Linked DNA regions of Homo sapiens: region 2 is linked to region 1. Evidence: promoter capture Hi-C in human tissues and cell types (Jung and others, 2019). All regions are on one chromosome and are shown on one strand. The core of a region is centred on a gene start or on the middle of the fragment in contact, and the rest is flanking DNA. Distances in the headings are between cores, read along the strand shown. Region 1 holds the start of PLA2G3 (phospholipase A2 group III). Region 2 overlaps RNF185 (ring finger protein 185).

Evidence for each region. The method cuts DNA at HindIII sites, captures the fragments that hold promoters and counts their contacts. A contact is called where the count stands out against the background at its distance.
Region 2: a contact is called between a fragment that was not itself captured here and the fragment with the promoter of PLA2G3 in region 1, in 1 of the 25 tissues and cell types used here (bladder).

Annotation. Positions count from the first base shown.
Region 1 is chr22:31,138,489-31,143,253 of GRCh38, reverse strand. It overlaps PLA2G3 (phospholipase A2 group III), which reads left to right and starts at 2,746. Exons shown (of 7, transcript NM_015715.5): 1 at 2,746-3,413; 2 at 4,455-4,587. The coding sequence starts at 2,900. RefSeq lists enhancers at 2,124-2,683, 2,684-3,242. The HindIII fragment of the contact is 19,816 bases long and covers 1-4,765 here.
Region 2 is chr22:31,175,008-31,179,533 of GRCh38, reverse strand. All of the region lies in intron 1 of RNF185 (ring finger protein 185), which reads right to left. Among named protein-coding and RNA genes, the nearest start is that of RNF185, 17 kb to the right of the region's middle. The HindIII fragment of the contact is 4,593 bases long and covers 1-4,100 here.

The sequences.
Region 1 (4,765 bases), core at 1,497-3,996:
TTTGAATGGACACAGAATACTCTGGAGCTAGGCACTGCCCCCCCCATTCTCCTGGCATAGAGAGCCACAGAGAGGCCCCTGGGTAAGGCTGGGAGTGCCAGCTCCATGGGCCAGAAGGAAGGCACCCTTCAGGCGACTGGGGAAGGAAGGCCTGAGGCTAGGAGGCTGTGGGAGAGCCAAGAGACTCCCAGATCCCAGGGAGGCCTTCCTCACATGCCAGGGGAAGTCGAAGCTGGCTTCTCTCTGGATCTGCTGGGTGAGCAAGTCACTCCTTTTCTTGGGCCTTACTCCATACCTCTATGGGACTATGGGATGAGAAGCCCCACCCTGCCTGTCTCCCTAGGGAGAGGCAGGGGTAGTGAGCTTCAGGTGAAGTCATGTCTGGGAAAACATGAATGGGAAAGGGCAGGGCACACGGGGTTTGGGGGTTTGTGTATGGGGAAGGATGGTGAGAGACAGGGATAGACGATCACACAGGGAAGAAGGAGAGGCCCTGCCCCTCCTTCTCTCATGAACCCCCACCCCTACTCCCCACTGGCACCCACTATGCACCCTGCCTCACCCAGACAGGTGGAGGGCCAGAGAAAAGCCTCAGACCCTCTTCCGTCTGCAGGACCCAGGCCTTCCTGTCTCGCTGGTTTGGCCCCTCTGCTCCAGGGCCTCTGAGGGACACCCTGGTGGAAGGCAGGACTCTGAGCCTGTCTTGTGGCTGACTGACTTGTTTTTGGGTGGAGTCTGGACAGAAAGCTCAGTGACACCCTCCCTCGAGGCCTGGGCAAGCCCCAGCCTGATGTTCTTTGAGACCCAGACTGGAAAAGACCTCAAAGTTCAACTCCACTGTACTTCTCACTGTACAGTGGGGGAAACTGAGTCCCAGAAAGGGACAGGGACAAGCCTGGAGTGACCCAGGCAGGTAGTGTCCTGGCCACTGTTCCCACAGTTGCCATCTAGCCCGAGCTCTCAGATATCACAGATGCTGTGGCCCCAAAATCTTGGGACTTGCTTTCTCCTGAGTAAACTGCTTCCTGGCCAGGGGTATCCTGAGGCTTTAGTGATGGTGTTTTGGGTGCCAGGAACTGTGCTGGGAATCTTACCCAACATCCTGTGGAGTGACTACTGTGATTATGCCCATGATACAGATGAGGAAACTAAGACTCAGAGAAGTTAAGATTTCCAAGCCTAGGGTCTGTGTGGAAACCTAAGCTGGACCTGTCTGACCTCGAAAGCTTGGCTCCTCGTATCCTACCTCCCAGCCTCCCCAGGTGATGGGCAGGGAAGGGCTCAGCAATGTGGAAAAGGGGGCAGAGGTGGGTGGCAGTTCCTATGATGGGAGGAAGTCTCAGCATGATGATTTTTCAAACATCACAACTCTTCACAGAAGGACTCACCTTTGTTCAGCTACATCCTTGCCCTTGGGGACCCCAGGTCTACCTCCTCTGCCACCACTCGCTGTATTCCACACCCCCTTTCTCAACCTCTGGCAAGAAGGCGCTTGGTCCCTGGACTAGCCCTACCCTCTTTCCCTTCTCTTCATTGTTCCCAGCTATGATGCTTTGAGCCACAGGCCCAGGCTGGTTCTGAAGCTACAGAGATGGACCTGCCCACCCTGCAGCCCCCTTCCCCCTCTGCCACACAGTGAGCTCTCCTTCCCCAGCTCTGCCCCTGGCTTTACCTCACTGGGGCTCATCCCCTGGAAGAGACTCAGATGGAGCCTGGGGCAGGGGGAGGCTGGAGAAGCAGCAGGCTAATGGGCAGATGGAAGACAGACAAGTCACTGTCCTGGCCAGCCCTGACTCCCATCCAGATCCCCAAGCGCTGCATTCCCATCCTCTAAGCCCTCCCCAGCTGGAGCCTGTCACCTGAGGTTTTCCCACCCTCACTGAGCCTCAGTTTCTTCATCTGCACTATGGGTGTAAGCACCCTGGCCTCACTAGATGGTTGGAAGCTGGGCTTTGGGATCCAGGAACAATACCTGGGTATAGCCCCTTCCTGATGGAGAGATTCCTGTCTCATGAGGCACACATGATGCCTGCTGTGTCCCCCCAGGTGGCCAGGGATGGAGGTGGCCACAGACATACACCCTGGGCCACTCTCTGCCACTCTAGGGACCATAGTTCTTTCAAATCCAGAGCATCAGCCCTGCCCTGTGTGGCTCTCAAGGCCTGTTCCCGCTGCGTCTCCCCCAGTTATCAGACCAGGAGGGTTGCTGCAAGGCCAGGCCCATGCTTGGAGTCCTAGGAAGCGGGGAGCCCTGGGGCTCTGTCCCCTGAGTATGCCGAGAGCCTTTCTAAGAACCAGGACTTGGCAGGGGAGCACCCCAGGTGGCACTCCCTTTCCCAGAAGCCTTGGGAACTCCCAGGGTGGTAGCTTCAGAGCCCCAGCCCTTCCTTCACCCAGCCCTGGCAGAGGCCCATGGCCCCCTGCCAGCCTGATGGAGGTGGATGTGGCAGCCACCGCTGTGGTAAGGGTGAGAAGGGTGGGTTCTAAGGGACTCCTCCAAGCTCCTGAACCCTTTTCCTTCCCTTCAAGGAGATGTGAAAGCCCCAGCCTGGTCCCCATCCCACAGCTTAGGGCTTTGGCTCCCATAGTCCCAATCTAGGCAGGGCTGGCAGCAGGTGACTGGATGGTGCTGAGAAGGCAGGCAGAATGGGGGCGTGGGCCCTGGCAAGTGCACTCCTCAGCCAATCAGCGTCCTGCCCGGCTGGTGGATTCGGTTACAAGCCCAAGATCACCCCATACTCCAGCCTCTTTCCTCCTCCTCCCGCAGCTCCATTCATTGGTCCCGCCGCACCGGGCCTGCTGGGCTCCGCTTCCGTTCCACTGCTCAGCTGCCGCCTGGTGGGGCCACCAAGGGCAGGCATCCCAGGGGCTTTGTCTGACTGGACTGGGCCAGTGCAGAATGGGGGTTCAGGCAGGGCTGTTTGGGATGCTGGGCTTCCTGGGGGTGGCCCTGGGGGGCTCCCCTGCCCTCCGCTGGTACAGGACCTCCTGCCACTTGACCAAGGCCGTCCCTGGCAACCCACTGGGGTACCTGAGCTTCCTGGCCAAGGATGCTCAGGGACTGGCCCTGATCCATGCCCGCTGGGATGCGCATAGGAGGCTGCAGTCATGTAGCTGGGAGGATGAGCCGGAGCTCACCGCAGCCTACGGTGCTCTCTGTGCTCATGAGACTGCCTGGGGCTCCTTCATCCACACCCCCGGACCCGAGCTGCAGAGAGCACTGGCCACTCTTCAGAGTCAGTGGGAGGCATGCCGAGCGCTTGAGGAGAGTCCAGCAGGGGCCAGGAAGAAGCGAGCAGCAGGGCAGAGTGGAGTCCCTGGTGGAGGGCACCAGCGAGAGAAGAGAGGATGGACCATGCCTGGCACACTGTGGTGTGGAGTTGGAGATTCTGCTGGGAACTCCTCGGAGCTGGGTGAGCCATGAGGGGTGTGTGGGCTGGGGGGTCCGATCGGGGAAGCAAGGTTTCTTCAGCCCCAGCCCTTACTCTCCTAGGCTGTGTGTCCCTGGGGGAGTGACTTGACCATGGTGAACCTCAATTTCCTTATCTGTAAAGTGGGGGCAATCACGAATCTCATCATGGGGTGCTTAAATGAGGTCACGGTTGGGGAAAGTCTTATTCAAACCTGGGAGTCCTCATTAAATGCCATCCGAGGGACTGGGCAGGCTGGGGGAGGATCCAGGGTCAACTGAGCCAAAAAGCCATTACCCAGGAGGAGGCTTTGTGGGCACGGGGTGCCCAGTGGAATGGATGCTGAGACGAAAGGCCTGGGTTCAAATCCCAACTCAGCACATACAAGCTGAGCAAGTCACTTCCCCTCTCTGGACTTATTTCCTCACCTGTAAAATGAAGGTGATACCTCCCTTTCAGGGCTGGCTGTGAACCTGGATGTGGGAAGTGCCAGGCATGTGGGAAATGCTTAGTAAAGAGTGCTATTTTTTAGATGGTAATAAACATAGATGAATTTCTTGCACTATCAGTACAGATGTCTGTGCGTTTGTGTGCAGGGTTGGGGGAGGGCTTGGCACCTGAGTCAGAGTAGGTTGGCATCCTGGCGACACCTCCTTGTGCCAGTGAGAAAGGTTGCACCCTGCCTGTTTGCCATTCCATCATACACACATTCATAATTTTGGAGTTTTATTTGGGGCGTGGGCTTGGGAACTCTGGAGGCAGACTCCAATTCCCCTGAGGAAGACCTTTCCATGTATTTATGGGTGGGCTACCTGGCATTTAGAGTTGCCCAACAGAGGCTGCAGCTTGGCTTCTCTTTTCCAGCTTTGAAACTCTGAGAGTCCCACAGAAGGGAGAGTGACTGGTCTGAGGACCCTCATGGCGTTTGTGTCAGGGCTGGGGTGAGAACCAGGTCTCTGCCCTCTTCCTACCAGGGGGGCATAGCTGGTGCATGATGCCTAGGACCCTGCTGAGTTGGTGCCCTCTCCCCTCCCCTCCCTGCAGGGGTCTTCCAGGGACCTGATCTCTGTTGCCGGGAACATGACCGCTGCCCACAGAACATCTCACCCTTGCAGTACAACTATGGCATCCGAAACTACCGATTCCACACCATCTCCCACTGTGACTGTGACACCAGGTTGGTGGCAGGCAGCGAGGGCCCAGAGCTCAGGGACAGGGCAGAGTTACCCAGTTCCTGGGTAACTAGACATTGGGATTGCAGAGGATCTTAAAGCTCAGCCAGCTTGGACCCCACAGTGCAGGTAGGAAAGCTGAGGCCAGAAAGAAGGGATGCTTGGACCCCAAACCACCCAGCT
Region 2 (4,526 bases), core at 555-3,054, 37 kb before region 1:
GTGAGGATGGGCACGCATGACTGACTTTGGTCAACTCCCAGCTGGCTGGTCACCAACTTTTCTTTGTAACATATTCTGGGCCCCACAGCTGCATACTCATCCCTGGAGCCACCTCTTCTCACCTTCTCCTACACCTATGCACAGGAATCTCAGTACACCAAGGTGGCATGGCAGAAATCAGCAGCTTCCCCTGGGGATTGTCTACTGAGCACCTACAGAACCATATGGGTCTACCAGGACTGGGACAGTGGCCCAAAACATAGAGGTTCCTGATCGGCTCAGGAACTAGGCAGAAAGAGAATCAGGTCCTGAGCATACCTATATGGCCATCCTGCTAAAATTTCTCATGGTCCCTGTAGAAGCTATAGACTTTCACCTAACCACAGAGCAACCTTGTTGTGGCTAGTTCTGTGCCTCTGTCCCTACCCTGACCATTCTTTTCTCCTGACCAGAATCCACTCTCTAGTTTTCAAAGCATTTCACATCTATCGCTGCATTTTATCCTCATGCCATTTTACAGATGAGGACACTGGGCCAGGGACATTAGAGGACTGCCTAAGGCCAGGACACCACGCAATGCCAAATTCAGACTTCCTAACACAATATTCAGCACTCTCTTCATTCTTATGTTTTTCTATTAACATGCTGCTTTACAAAATTAAATACCTGGTTTTTGTCTTCCCTCAAATTTATCGTGCAATGTTGTAACTTTTGTGCTGTTTGAAATGAGTACAGAGTAAATTAATCACTCATCCACTTATTCATTCAACCAACCAGCAGTTTTCCAATGCCAATTACATTTGAGGTCTGGTGCTACCAACTGTGGAGGAGTTACAAAGAGGAATAAGACCAAGTTGAGGTCTTGGAGTCTAGTACAGGAGCTGAAGGCACATAGATTAATTTTAAGAATTCTAAACAAGGGGCTCCATCAAACTCACCTGTTTTTCCTTTCGTTGTTGTTTTTGCCTGTTTTTCTTAAACAAAGCATCCTCTCACCCCACGAAAGATCTGGTTCCCAGATCCCTTCAGAGATTTAAATAGGATCTGGACCTAGATCAGGCCTAAGAATCTGTATGCTTTTAATGTAGCCCTCACTTTCTACCCTAGATGATTCTCTAATTAACAGAGTTTTGGAAACCCAGCTCTAGAAGAGGGTACAGCTCTATCAATAGCACAAAGCAATACCAACAAAATACAGTATTTTAGAAGGACAGAAACCTCAGGGCCTATCCAGCTACAATCCACAGGGACTACAGAGAGGTCAGATAAACTTGGGGGGTAAGGGACAAATCTGCTGAATTCAGATTAATCAGCATTTAGTCCAACTGGAACACAGCTGATCATTTTAAGAAATAAGTTCACACCTAGTTTTAAAAAACAGTCCTAACTTTGAGATGTCCAGGGCAACACATGTGGTGCTGGGACTAACGCGGATTTGCAATACTTAATGATCCTGTAGGAACACAGAGCCTGGCGGCTGAAGTTGACTGACCCAGTATCTTCAATATATTACCTTCCCAGAGCTGGCCTTTGGTCTACTTGGTCTGGCCCACCTCACAGGAATTGAGCAAGAAAGAGAACACGAGAGTTGAATATCCCTGCAGGAACCACCAGGGAACTTGATCTCATGAGGAAATTTCTCTGTAGCATTCTTAAATTCAATTATCAAGTTCTAGAGAACTGTAGGAATTCATCATCTGCCTTTTCTGTCCCTTTAACTCCAAGAATTTCTAGACCAGGGTGTAGTGAGACACCTAGAAATGTTAATCTTAGATATGAAGACTATGAATTTGGGTGATAAATAACAGGCATGATCCCAGCAGAGGTCTCATTTCTGTGAGCACATGCTTATTCACACAGAAGCTTTCTGCCAGGAACCCTGGCATGCCTGAGCCTGTCTACGCTGCTCATTAGACTGCTGCTGGACCACACGTAGGCAGAAATGGGACCTGCATTCCAAGAATGTCTACATCACACTCATAGAAGGCTGGAATGGGAAGAACTCTGAATAAGTTTATTGGAACTTGGAAACACATAAACCAGCTTTGAAATTTTAAAGTCTAAGTGGTGTTTAGGTTCCTAGGCTAGCCCATGGAGATTTGGCCCTCAAATACAGGATCAGAAGAACAGAGAAGGCTGAAAGGACTGGCTTCTTTTCATTGGGGCTGCACTGGTCCTTTTCTCTGGTTCCCTCTAATCTTCCTATCTACTTAGTAGATAGGAATGAATCTTCAAAGATTCATTAAAGATCCTATTATTTGCCAGGCATTCAAGATACAGAAATAAAACTTTTTTTTCAGTCTAAAGGGAGACACAGACAAGTGAACCAACAAGGCAACCCAGTGTACTGGGAACTGACAGAAGTGTGTACATAGTACCTGAAGACAGGGAATGCTGGGGAGGATGTAGACACAGTACAAGGAACAAGTGCATAATTCATGGTAAGGCAGCAAGGGCTGGGACTAAGGGAAGAAGAAAAGCCTTTGACTCTCAGTGCCCTTCAGCCCTGGCCTGCCTGGCTCACATACCCTATAGGGTACCTAACCCAGATCTGCCTAACCTTCCAAAGGGCTCCATGATTTTAACGTCTCTTTTTCTCCCCAACTAGCTCCCATTACCTGGTTAAATAAACTGGTACGTCCACATAATAGATTACACAGCCACTAAAAATAATGCTTCCACAGAGATTTTGCTTACGTAGGAATTTCAATTACATGACATAATGTTAAGTGAAAAAAACAGGATGGGCTGGACACGGTGGCTCACGCCTGCAATCTCAGCAGTTTGGGAGGCTGAGGCAGGCGGATCACGAGGTCAGGAGATCGAGACCATCCTGGCTAACACGGTGAAACCCCGTCTCTACTAAAAATACAAAAAATTAGCCGGGCATGGTGGCGGGCACCTGTAGTCCCAGCAACTCGGGAGGCTGAGGCAGGAGAATGGTGTGAACCTGGGAGGCGGAGCTTACAGTGAGCTGAGATCGCACCACTACACTCCAGCCTGGGTGACAGAGCAAGACTCTGTCTAAAAAAAAAAAAAAAAGAAAAAGAAAAAAGCAGGATGTAAAATTGTATACAAAGTTGAATATATATGTGGCCAGGTGCGGTGGGTCATACCTGCATTCCTAGCACTTTGGGAGGCTGAGGCAGGAAGATTGCTTGAGCCCAGGATTTGGAGCAGCTGGGAGTCTGACACAGGAGAATTGCTTGAACCTGGGAGGGAGAGGCTGCAGCGAGCCCACTGCACTCCAGCCTGGGCGACAGAGCGAGATTCTGTCTCAAAAAAAAAAAAAATTGAATTTATTTGTTATCAGCAGGTTAAAAAGATACCAAAAAAAGAGGTCAAAAATATTAACTGTAGTAGTCTCCGGACAGTGGACTTATGGACAAATTTCTTAAGCTTTAAAAAATACTTACATGTACTTGCCACCTTTTCCATAGTGAGTACTCTGTTAATACTCAGGAGAAAATAGGCCAAGCATGGTGGCTCACATCTGTAATCCTAGCACTTTGGGAGGCCAAGATGGGAGGATTGGTTGAGGCCAGGAGTTCGAGACCAGCCTGGTCAACACAGAGAGCTCCCATCTCAAATTACAAAATAAAAGATGTGAAAGGTCCAATACCTTCAGATCTCAGTAGAGAACAAAAAGGAAACCAATCTGAATTAAGTACATTCACAACTGAGGTGTGAATGGTCCTTAGAATAATAATCATCTCAGAAATTTTAACAATTTTAATTTTATGAATTTATTTTTTTAATAAGTAACACGTTTACATGGCTCAAAATTCAATAGGTACAACAAAAGGATATAGGCTGAAAAGTCTCTCCCTATCCCTGGAACCCAACAGCCCTGTTTTCTACCTTCAAGACTGCTTGACTATATTATTAGTATAAACCCTAGAAGTAGAACTGCAGGGTCAAAGTATTTATATTTGTAACTTTGAGACAGTGCTGAATACCCCCAGGGAAGATGTGCCAATTTATATTCCTATGAGAAATACATAAGACATTTGTTTCCCTAAGTCCTTGACAATGACATGTATGTTTTCCAAAAGATGATATATGGCTTTTTTTTTTTTTTGAGACAGTTTCACTCTTGTTGCCCAGGATGGAGTGCAATGGCGTGATCTCGGCTCACTGCAACCTCCACCTACCGGGTTCAAGCAATTCTCCTGCATCAGCCTCCTGAGTAGCTGGGATTACAGCTGTGCGCCACCACATCCAGCTAGTTTTTTGTTTGTTTGTTTGTAGAGATGGGGTTTCGCCATGCTGCCCAGGCTGGTCTTGAACTCCTGGGCTCAAGCAATCCACCTGCCTCAGCCTTGGCCTCCCAAATTGCTGAGATTACAGGCAATCAGCCACCAAGCCCAGAGATAACACATATCTGAGTGGGGATTCTAGAGCCAGCTGTTCCTACTTTTTCACATTTTCGTCCACTACTTTTTTTTTTTTTTTTTAATTTGAGACGGAGGCTCGCTCTGTCGCCCAACTGAAGTGCAACGGCGCGATCTCGGCTCACCGCAACC